Linked DNA regions of Homo sapiens: all the other regions are linked to region 2. Evidence: promoter capture Hi-C in 16 types of primary human blood cells and fetal thymus (Javierre and others, 2016). All regions are on one chromosome and are shown on one strand. Each heading gives the region's core, a stretch centred on a gene start or on the middle of the fragment in contact. The rest is flanking DNA. Distances are from core to core; before and after follow the strand shown.

Region 1 (3,015 bases), core at 19-2,518, 9.5 Mb before region 2:
ATACTAAATATTTTTAAAGCTAAACGTTGCTGAGCTCTCAGTTGTATGGAAAAAGATAAGGTCCCCAAACCCTAAATTTTGTTACCCAGATATTAACATATTCCTGCCCTAGTCAGGAATGGAGTATTAAGAGGGAATGATGTGTTTCAGTCTATGTGTGTTGTTTTAGCAAGTCTACATTATCTCATTACACTTGTGATAGTCTAGGGAGAAATGCTTAGTAAATAACTTGAGTAGTAAAAGACTCTTGTCTGGTGGTGAACTAGAGTTGAGAATTAAAATTCTTTCTGACTTGCTGCTATAGGCAATGTGGGAGATTGACCTTGGGCCTTTTTTCCTATTCTAGGAGCGAGCTGGACGCCACTGTGGGGCTCTGAGAGTCCTGAATTCTTACTGGGTTGGTGAAGATTCCACATACAAATTTTTTGAGGTTATCCTCATTGATCCATTCCATAAAGCTATCAGAAGAAATCCTGACACCCAGTGGATCACCAAACCAGTCCACAAGCACAGGGAGATGCGTGGGCTGACATCTGCAGGCCGAAAGAGCCGTGGCCTTGGAAAGGGCCACAAGTTCCACCACACTATTGGTGGCTCTCGCCGGGCAGCTTGGAGAAGGCGCAATACTCTCCAGCTCCACCGTTACCGCTAATATAAGTAAAGTTTGTAAAATTCATACTTAATAAACAATTTAGGACAGTCATGTCTGCTTACAGGTGTTATTTGTCTGTTAAAACTAGTCTGCAGATGTTTCTTGAATGCTTTGTCAAATTAAGAAAGTTAAAGTGCAATAATGTTTGAAGACAATAAGTGGTGGTGTATCTTGTTTCTAATAAGATAAACTTTTTTGTCTTTGCTTTATCTTATTAGGGAGTTGTATGTCAGTGTATAAAACATACTGTGTGGTATAACAGGCTTAATAAATTCTTTAAAAGGAGAGAACTGAAACTAGCCCTGTAGATTTGTCTGGTGCATGTGATGAAACCTGCAGCTTTATCGGAGTGATGGCAATGCTCTGCTGGTTTATTTTCAAGTGGCTGCGTTTTTTTTAGTTTGGCAGGTGTAGACTTTTTAAGTTGGGCTTTAGAAAATCTGGGTTAGCCTGAAGAAAATTGCCTCAGCCTCCACAGTACCATTTTAAATTCACATAAAAGGTGAAAGCTCCTGGTTCAGTGCCATGGCTTCATGGCATTCAGTGATTAGTGGTAATGGTAAACACTGGTGTGTTTTGAAGTTGAATGTGCGATAAAATTATTAGCCTTAAGATTGGTAAGCTAGCAATGAATGCTAGGGTGGGAAGCTGGTGAGCCAGTGGCCATTAGATAAATACCTTTCAAGTGTGAGCTTAGACGTCAACCCTAAAATACTTAACCGTAATGCTAATTGTGATCATTATGAATCCCTTCAGTCACATTAGGGGGAAAGTAGTTGGCTATAAGTACGTCATTCTTAGTCCAGTCAGTCTTAAAAACATCTTGGGTTACCCACTCTGTCCACTCCCATAGGCTACAGAAAAAGTCACAAGCGCATGGTTTCCAACCATATGTGTTTTCTGCAGTTATTTCTCTTGTTCTGGCCAAACAACCCTAAAAATCCTTACCATTCCACAAAGTTGGACCATCACTTGTGCACCCACTTTGACTATGAGTATACCACCACATTGCATTTCTGTTTGCACCATGTCTTCCAGGAGACTAGACTACTGTTGTCCAGGGTCAATTTGAGTGTAAAGAAAATGTAGACAAGGAATTGCCCAATTTTAAATTCTGACTTTGCTGACTTAATTTAAATGCTCGTTCTGAACCAATTTTCTCCTATCTTCTCTAGGGGTTTCAAAAGACTCAGTTAATTGATTTCCAGGAAGTACTCATAGCAAGTTCATAAAAGTTCTTGAGACCTAAATTTCTTCACAAAAAAAGAAAAGATCTTAAGTCATACATTTTAATTGTGTAGAGGTTGTTCAACTGAAGGAATAAATGTCTATTAAACTAAAACAAATGGACCTTCTGTTATTTTTTGTCATCTTACAGTGCTAATGTACTTTAAAGCAAACCAAATGCCCTAACCAGCAAAAAGGCATCAAAATGTGATTATAGAAATAATATAATTTGAGATAGCATAAAATGTACTTATTCTCTCAGTTCTTTGATCATTGCATGAATTAGGTTTTTATCTAAAACTGTTCAGCTGGGTGTGGTGGCTCAGGCCTGTAATCCTGGCACTTTGGGAGACAAGCTGGAGGATTTGTTGAGGCCAGCCTGGGCAGCATAGTGAGACCTAAAAACAAAAAAAATCCTTAAACATGACTAATTTGGGAAGGAGAGAAAGGGTTCGGGCCAAAGGTCAGCATTGTCTCTACAAGAAAACCTTGTTCCTGTCCTTGCTACCCAACAGTTTTATCTCCACACAGTAGTCCAAGGGATCCTATTAAATTGATCATGGCACTCCCGTGCAAAAAAATCAAAAGTCCTCATGATAGCTTTCATGATCTTCCCACTTTATGTGTGACCTCATGTCCTACTGCAGTCCACACCCCAGGCTCCTTGCTGTTTGTTCTTCAAATACACCAAACACTTCCTAATGCCTTTATGATGGGAAAGCTTTACTCCAATATTAAGGGTCACTTTATTAGCTATACCCTGACCGCCCCACAAGCTGTTCCCATTTGCTTTACTATTTCTATATTGGCATGTAATTCACACAGCAACATTGATTATTGAGTTTTTTTTTTTTTTTTTTTTTTTCCAGATGGAGTCTCACTCTCACTCAGGTGGGAGTGCAGTGGGGCAATCACGGCTCACTGCAACCTCTGTCTCCCGGGTTTGAGCAATTCTTCTGCCTCGGCCTCCCAAATAGCCAGGACTACAGGCGCACACTGCCATGCCCAGCTAAGTTTTGTATTTTTAGTAGAGACTGGGTTTCACTATGTTGGCCAGGCTGGTCTCGAACTCCTGACCTCAAGTGATCCACCTGCCTTGGCCTCCCAAAGTGCTGGGATTACAGGCGTGAGCCACC
Region 2 (2,910 bases), core at 201-2,700:
GGTAAACTATATTTCAATAAAGCCACTAAAAAAATACAGAGTTTCCAAATTCCTAACAGTTAAAAAGGATAAAGGGCGGAGACTAAGCTCAGATCTGTTTCAATCTCTCCATATTAAAATGAATGACTGCTGGTACAGACAGCAGAGACTAAACAATTATTTGTGGTGCAATCACTGCATCTTAAAACCCTCAAGAGGAAACAGCCTGAGAGGGTAGTCTCCAAAATGAGAAACTTCACTTTGAGACAATCAAAAGAACAAAACGAAGTCACAGTGCTACTCCCACCGCTGCTCTTTCAATTATAATTTACTAACATCAAGTGATTAAAATCTGCAGCCAGAAAAGATCATAATGTAGGACAACAAAGTAGGAACTGATCCCAAAACGCTAGACAGTATTCTCCCAATATAAGTGCTGCCTTTTCGTACAGTGTATTCTAGCTCCAATGGGACTTGTAAATCACTTATAAGGAAAAGAAGCCCCTTCCCCCACCAACCCAAGCCATCCTAATAGCTGGGCGTGTTTTACAGCAAATATGAAGCACTCAGGAGCGGTCCGAGGCCGACGCTTGCGGGGCCATCCTCCCCCACCCGCCCGTCACCAGGGCGAGCAGAGGCCTTTGGGGTTCCATGGCCCCCGACCGCCACGCGGCAGGACTCCGACCCCGCAGCCCAGGAGGCCCGCGCACCTCTGGGAGCAGCCGCATCTGGCAGAGACTCAGGGCTGCGCAGGCCTTCCCCAAGGAGACAGAGGCTTCTCCCCGCCCAGGGAGCCCAGTACCTCATGCTGTAAGCGCCGGCGCCCAGTTCCTGCCCGATGCCCGAGAGGCTGGCGTCGAAGTCGTGCACCAGCCCGGACTCGATCACCTCGTCCATCTTGAGCACCCAGGCCATCTTCCGGCCTCGCCGTCGCCCCGCACACCGCGGCCTCCGCGTCCAGGGCGAAGGAGCCGGAGCTCCGCTGGCGCGTCCTGGGGGAGGGCGCGGGTGAAGCCTCCGGAGGGGCGGCGAGTGGTCACCAGCGGCGGCCGGGACGAGAGCTGCGGGGGCCCCACTGGCAGGGCACGACGAGCCCAGCGAGCAATTGCAGCGGGAGCGGCCGGGCCGCCGGCAGCGCCACCCTCCCGCGGACACCGGCCCTGCGCCTCATGCCGGCGCCGCCGCCCAGCCCCCGCGCCGCTAGCGCTGCAGCCGCCGCCGACCGCCCCGCCCGGGGCCCCCCGGTCGCATCCTCCTCCGGGACCGCTGGGAGGCTGGACCTCGGGCCGCTCCGAGGACCACACGGGGGCAAGCCCTCCGCCCGCCCGTCACCCGCCCCCAAGCCTTGACTCCTTGCCCCCGGCCCGCCCAGGCTCTAGCGCCACACCGCCCCGGCCAACCCCGCCGACGCCGCTCTGCCGGCCGGACGCTGGCTTCAACGCGACTCCGACTTAGGTTCACGCGCCGCTTCCGCCTCCCCCGGCCCCGCCCCGACCCCGCCCCGGCGTTCGCCCCACGCCTCGGCCCTCCCCGTACAGCCCCGCGCTTAGGGCCACTCCCCGCGCCTCGCGGCCCAGGAACTGTCCAGAGAGTGCAATGCGGCCCCGCCCACGCGGCTGTTCCCAGCCGGGGTGGCCTCGCTGCGTCCCCGCACAGCAGCCCAGGAAGAGGCGGTGCCAAAAGGGCTGCCAGTTTCCGCCCCTTCTAGCGAGCGAGATGATTGACAGGCCAACTGAGCAATACCTGCAAGGGCTTGGACGAAGCTCCCGTGAGTCTCTGTGTCCCCCGACTAAACAACCAATCAAAATGTTCTTCACCTTGGGCGGGCTCGAAGACGGAATTTGTTGCCAAAAGAAAGAGTTCATTGGACTGCATGGTAGAAAGCGACCCAAAACGCCACTTCCGGAGGTGATTTGCTCCTCTGTGGTATTTCCCGGTCGTCTCTGCTTTATGCCCTCTCTACCGAGGGAGTGAGCGGTTTGCACCCCATCTGGTGACAGAAAAGCCAGTTGTGCAGAAAACCTTGATTGGCGTGAGAATAAGCCAATCAACGCTCCTGAGAAAGAGCTCTGGAAAGACTTCCCCTATTGGTTGCATTGCCGAGAGCAGCTTGGCTATCCTGAGTTGAACTAGCTGTTGGTCATCCTAAGGGCAGGCGGTCTCCTGAAGTTGGACCGAACCATTAGGACGTGCCACAGTAACAGCTACGCTGCTCAGAAGGCCCGAAGGGTCTTCCTCAGCGACCTAGCGTGGGCACGCGCCACTGCGGCCAAAAGACAGAAATCTTTTTACCGGAAGAGATGAAATAGAAAGCAGGAGCCAGAGGCTGACTTACAGAGCCAGTGTGCGGATCAGAGTTCCTTAGGAGCGGCTGCTGGCGCTTGACGGGCGGAATCCTTGCTGAAGAGAACGTCAAGGCCCGGGCTTCGCCCTGCATCGAACTTACTGCCTAAGAATAAGACCCAAATGCTGAGCGCCCCGCCCCAACTTGCCAGTTTAAGTGCAAAAATACATAGATTAAAATGTCAGCCTAATAAAGCAGTGGCACTGAGCCAGAAAAAAATAGTCTCAACGCCTGTGTGATTTAGATACTAACTTACAGGCTCACGCCTGTAATCCCAGCACTTCGGGAGGCCGAGGCGGGTGAATTAGTTGAGGTCAGGAGACCATCCCGGCCAACATGGTGAAACCCCGTCTCTACCAAAAATAACAAAAATTAGCTGGATGTGGTGGCGCGCCCATGTAATCCCAGCTACTCAGGAGGCTGAGGCGGGAGTAAGGCTTGAACCCGGGAGAAGACAGAGCAACACTCGGTCTCCAAAAAAAAAAACCACAAATTAACTTGGAGAATGTTTTTCTCTTTACACAACATTTTTGCAAACATTTCATTTGATAAAGCCATACTTTAGAGATGAGGTAATTCAGGTGAAA
Region 3 (3,018 bases), core at 340-2,839, 6.0 Mb before region 2:
AGATTATTTAGGATGAGTTTCCAGTATTCCATTACCATCACTGTGAATTATCTTCCAATAACCACTGCTAAATGACTTCACTGTCTGGTGACTGAGTTTTCTTCTATGTTAGAGAACTTATATGAACGTACTGAACTAATGAATGACTACTTTCCATAACCTTAACTATAATCCTAAAAGTTAAAAGGGAAAGCCGGCAGGCAGTTTTAAAGACAACTCTTGAATAAAAACATAGGAGAAGTAATTTTCCTCTTAGTTGTGAAAGACCGGACAATTTTCCCTGCAACCTTCCCGCCTTTGCTGGTTGCATAGTAAAAATTAGAAGTAGGAAAATTTAGAATACTTCCATCTCCTTTGAGTCACGAACTTGGAAAGGAGAAAGAGACAACTGCGGGGACGCATGTGCTCTAAAGAAAGCAGGAAGTCCGCTTCTTGAGCATGGGCCGTTCACCCATCATCACAAATGGGAACACCGGCCTTAAGTCCATCCCCATTCTCTTCTAACCCTGAAATCAAAGCCAGTCTCAGTAGGAAACGCGATCTTGCTAGCTGAGTTAGAGAAGGAGCACCAGACAGCTCAGGACACCCTCCTCCTTCTACTTGGCCTGCGGCAGGAGGATACTCCCCGGGTCCCAGCCAGTGGAGAAGGCGGACCCGGCAGGCAACAGCGAAAGAGCCTTGGCCGGGAAGGAGCGCGGCCAGTCCACGCGGCCGGAGAACTCACCGAACAAAGCGCACCGCGGAGCGGGAGGGGACACTCGGAAAGAGGGGGAAAGATTCAACCAGCTCTTCACCACTGCCTGGGGCTAGAGACAGGTGGAGCCGCCGTCCTCCTTAGAAGGAGAAGAAAGATAGGTTTTCGAGGGCTAATCTGAAACTCCTGCGCCAAGGCAACCGGAACCGGGACCCCGCCTGGGGAGCGCGCTAAGAAACAGGGGAGGCGAGCGCTGAGGGAAGGGATGGATGGTCGGGGTCACAGGCGGCCTCTGCGGGGATGTCGGGGTCCCGCCTGAGCCGCGCAGAGGATGCCCGCGGCGCGCCGCCGGCCGCCCCGACTCGGGCCTCCCGAGCGCAGCCGCTGGCCCCCTCCCACCCGCGCCCCAGGCCGCCACACAAAGGGGATGGCGAGGCGCGCCGGCCGCCGGGAGGTGGAGGGGCGACGGGCCTGGGACGAGGTGGCCGAGCCGCGACGCCCGCCGCGCCCCCCGCCTTTGTCTGCCTCGCCCCGCGCCCTCCCCCTGCGGAGGAGCCCCACCGCCGCGGCGCCCTCACCCTGCTCGTTACCCGGGTGAGTAGCGGTCTCATCTGCTCGCCGGCCCCATCAGCCTCCATGGCCGGCCGGCCAGCCCGTGACGGCCGCTACGGTACTGCCCCGCGCGGTCTGCCTGCTTCTGCCGCTGCCCCTGCCGCCGCCGCCGAGCCCCCGGCGCGCGAGGACAAACGTGGGTGCGTCCGTGCGCGAGGTGTGCGCGCGTGGGGAGAGCCGGGCGCCGGGCGCGGGAGACGCGGGGCGTGCGTGTGCGCGCTGCGACTGCTGGGCTGGCTTTAGTAGGAGAGCGAGGCCGCGGCGTGGAACCTGAAGCTAGAACTGAGCGAACCGGCGGACCGAGCGGGAAGGAGGAGAGCCGCGTAGGAGGAGGGGTTCGGGGGCGGAGCCGCAAACCGTGACGAGCCCGGCGCCGGGGCCAGGCAAGACACGCCCCCCCGCCCCGCCTCCTCGGGTCACGCCCCCTGCCAGTCTGGCACCGCCAGCCTCCTCAGCGCGCCCGCGGGCCGCGCCGCTAGGCCACCGGGAGATGGGGCGGGAGGGAGGCGGGACGGACATTTGTCCCAGCCAATCGGCGGCTGGCGGACTTCCGCTCGCCTCCCCCGTGCCACCTCCTCAGGACGCACCGCCCCTCTTTGTATAAGCTTAATTGACCGAAGCTGAGCGTCTAACTAGTTTTTCAAGTCGGAAGCTCCCCTGACGTTCTCAATGGGGTGGGGGGTCACCACCTCCCTTGGCTCCTAACTACATTCTTTAGAGGCTGCAGGGAAGGAGGACGCCACCTCTGTCAAGGACGCCCAGGATAACCCTCCGAAGCAACTAACGAGTCTTCACGACTCCTGGAAGTTTCTTTTCTGTCAATCCAGTAGGCACGAACCCCAACTCAGGGACCGTGAAAGATGGGGTACACTTGACCAGGTGTCCTCCTGTGCTTGCTCGCCCACTGAGCACCACGACAGCTGCCACTTTTTTTTTTTTTTTTTTTTTTTTTGAGACAGAGTCTTGCACCAGCCCAGGTTGGAGTGCAATGGCATGATCTCGGCTCACTGCAACCTCCGCTGCCTGGGTTCAAGCTATTCTCCTGCCTCAGCCTCCTGAGTAGCTGGGACTACAGACGCGCGCCACCACGCCCGGCAACTTTTTGTATTTTTAGTAGAGACGGGGTTTCACCATGTTGGTTAGGCTGGTCTCGAACTCCTGAGCTAAGGTGATCCACCAGCCTCAGCCTCCCAAAGTGCTGGGATTACAGGCATGAGCCACCACACCCGGCCAGCTGCCACATTATTGAGTCCACCCTGTAGGCCGTCTCTCAAATATCCCTTCTGTAACGGGATGATTGTAATACCTGCCATGCAGGCTCATTGAAGGATTAAGGGGATTTATATTCATAAAAGTGCCTGGCACATAGCATGCTGATAATTTTCATTATTGTTAACAGGTTTCTCTTGAGTGTTTCATAAAGATGAGAAATTTGGCCGGGCGCGGTGGCTTACGCCTGTAATTACAGCAGTTTGGGAGGCCGAGGCGGGCGGATCACCTGAGATCAGGAGTTCGAGACCAGCCTGACCAACATGACGAAACCCCGTGTCTACTAAAAATACAAAAATTAGCCAGGCATGGTGGCAGGCACCTGTAATCCCAGCTACTCAGGAGGCTGAGGCAGGAGAATCGCTTGAACCCAGGAGGCAGAGGTTGCAGTGAGCTGAGATCACGCCACTGCACTCCAGCCTGGGTGACAGAGCTAGACCCTG

Evidence for each region. Contacts are between HindIII fragments. The CHiCAGO score rates a contact against its expected background, and 5 or more counts as called.
Region 1: a contact is called between a fragment that was not itself captured here and the fragment with the promoter of UBP1 in region 2, in 1 of 17 cell types (activated CD4 T cells). The highest score is 5.5, in activated CD4 T cells.
Region 3: the fragment with the promoter of SLC4A7 here is called in contact with the fragment with the promoter of UBP1 in region 2 in 1 of 17 cell types (naive CD8 T cells); the score reaches 6.2 in naive CD8 T cells.

The regions. Positions count from the first base shown.
Region 1 is chr3:23,918,850-23,921,864 of GRCh38, forward strand. RPL15 (ribosomal protein L15) reads left to right here. Exons shown (of 4, transcript NM_002948.5): 4 at 347-2,140. The coding sequence ends at 652. It also overlaps a transcript of NKIRAS1 not described here. Among named protein-coding and RNA genes, the nearest start is that of RPL15, 3.2 kb to the left of the region's middle. The HindIII fragment of the contact is 2,659 bases long and covers 1-2,598 here.
Region 2 is chr3:33,438,955-33,441,864 of GRCh38, forward strand. UBP1 (upstream binding protein 1) reads right to left here and starts at 1,451. Exons shown (of 16, transcript NM_014517.5): 1 at 782-1,451. The coding sequence starts at 894. RefSeq lists silencers at 456-690, 610-659, 890-1,209, 1,260-1,369, 1,430-1,589 and enhancers at 909-1,408, 1,740-1,929, 2,140-2,429. The HindIII fragment of the contact is 4,671 bases long and covers 1-2,910 here.
Region 3 is chr3:27,482,795-27,485,812 of GRCh38, forward strand. It overlaps SLC4A7 (solute carrier family 4 member 7), which reads right to left and starts at 1,590. Exons shown (of 26, transcript NM_001321103.2): 1 at 1,273-1,590. The coding sequence starts at 1,332. RefSeq lists enhancers at 329-388, 549-758, 789-848, 864-1,640, 2,119-2,248 and silencers at 1,019-1,088, 1,119-1,478, 1,509-1,988. The HindIII fragment of the contact is 9,889 bases long and covers 1-1,909 here.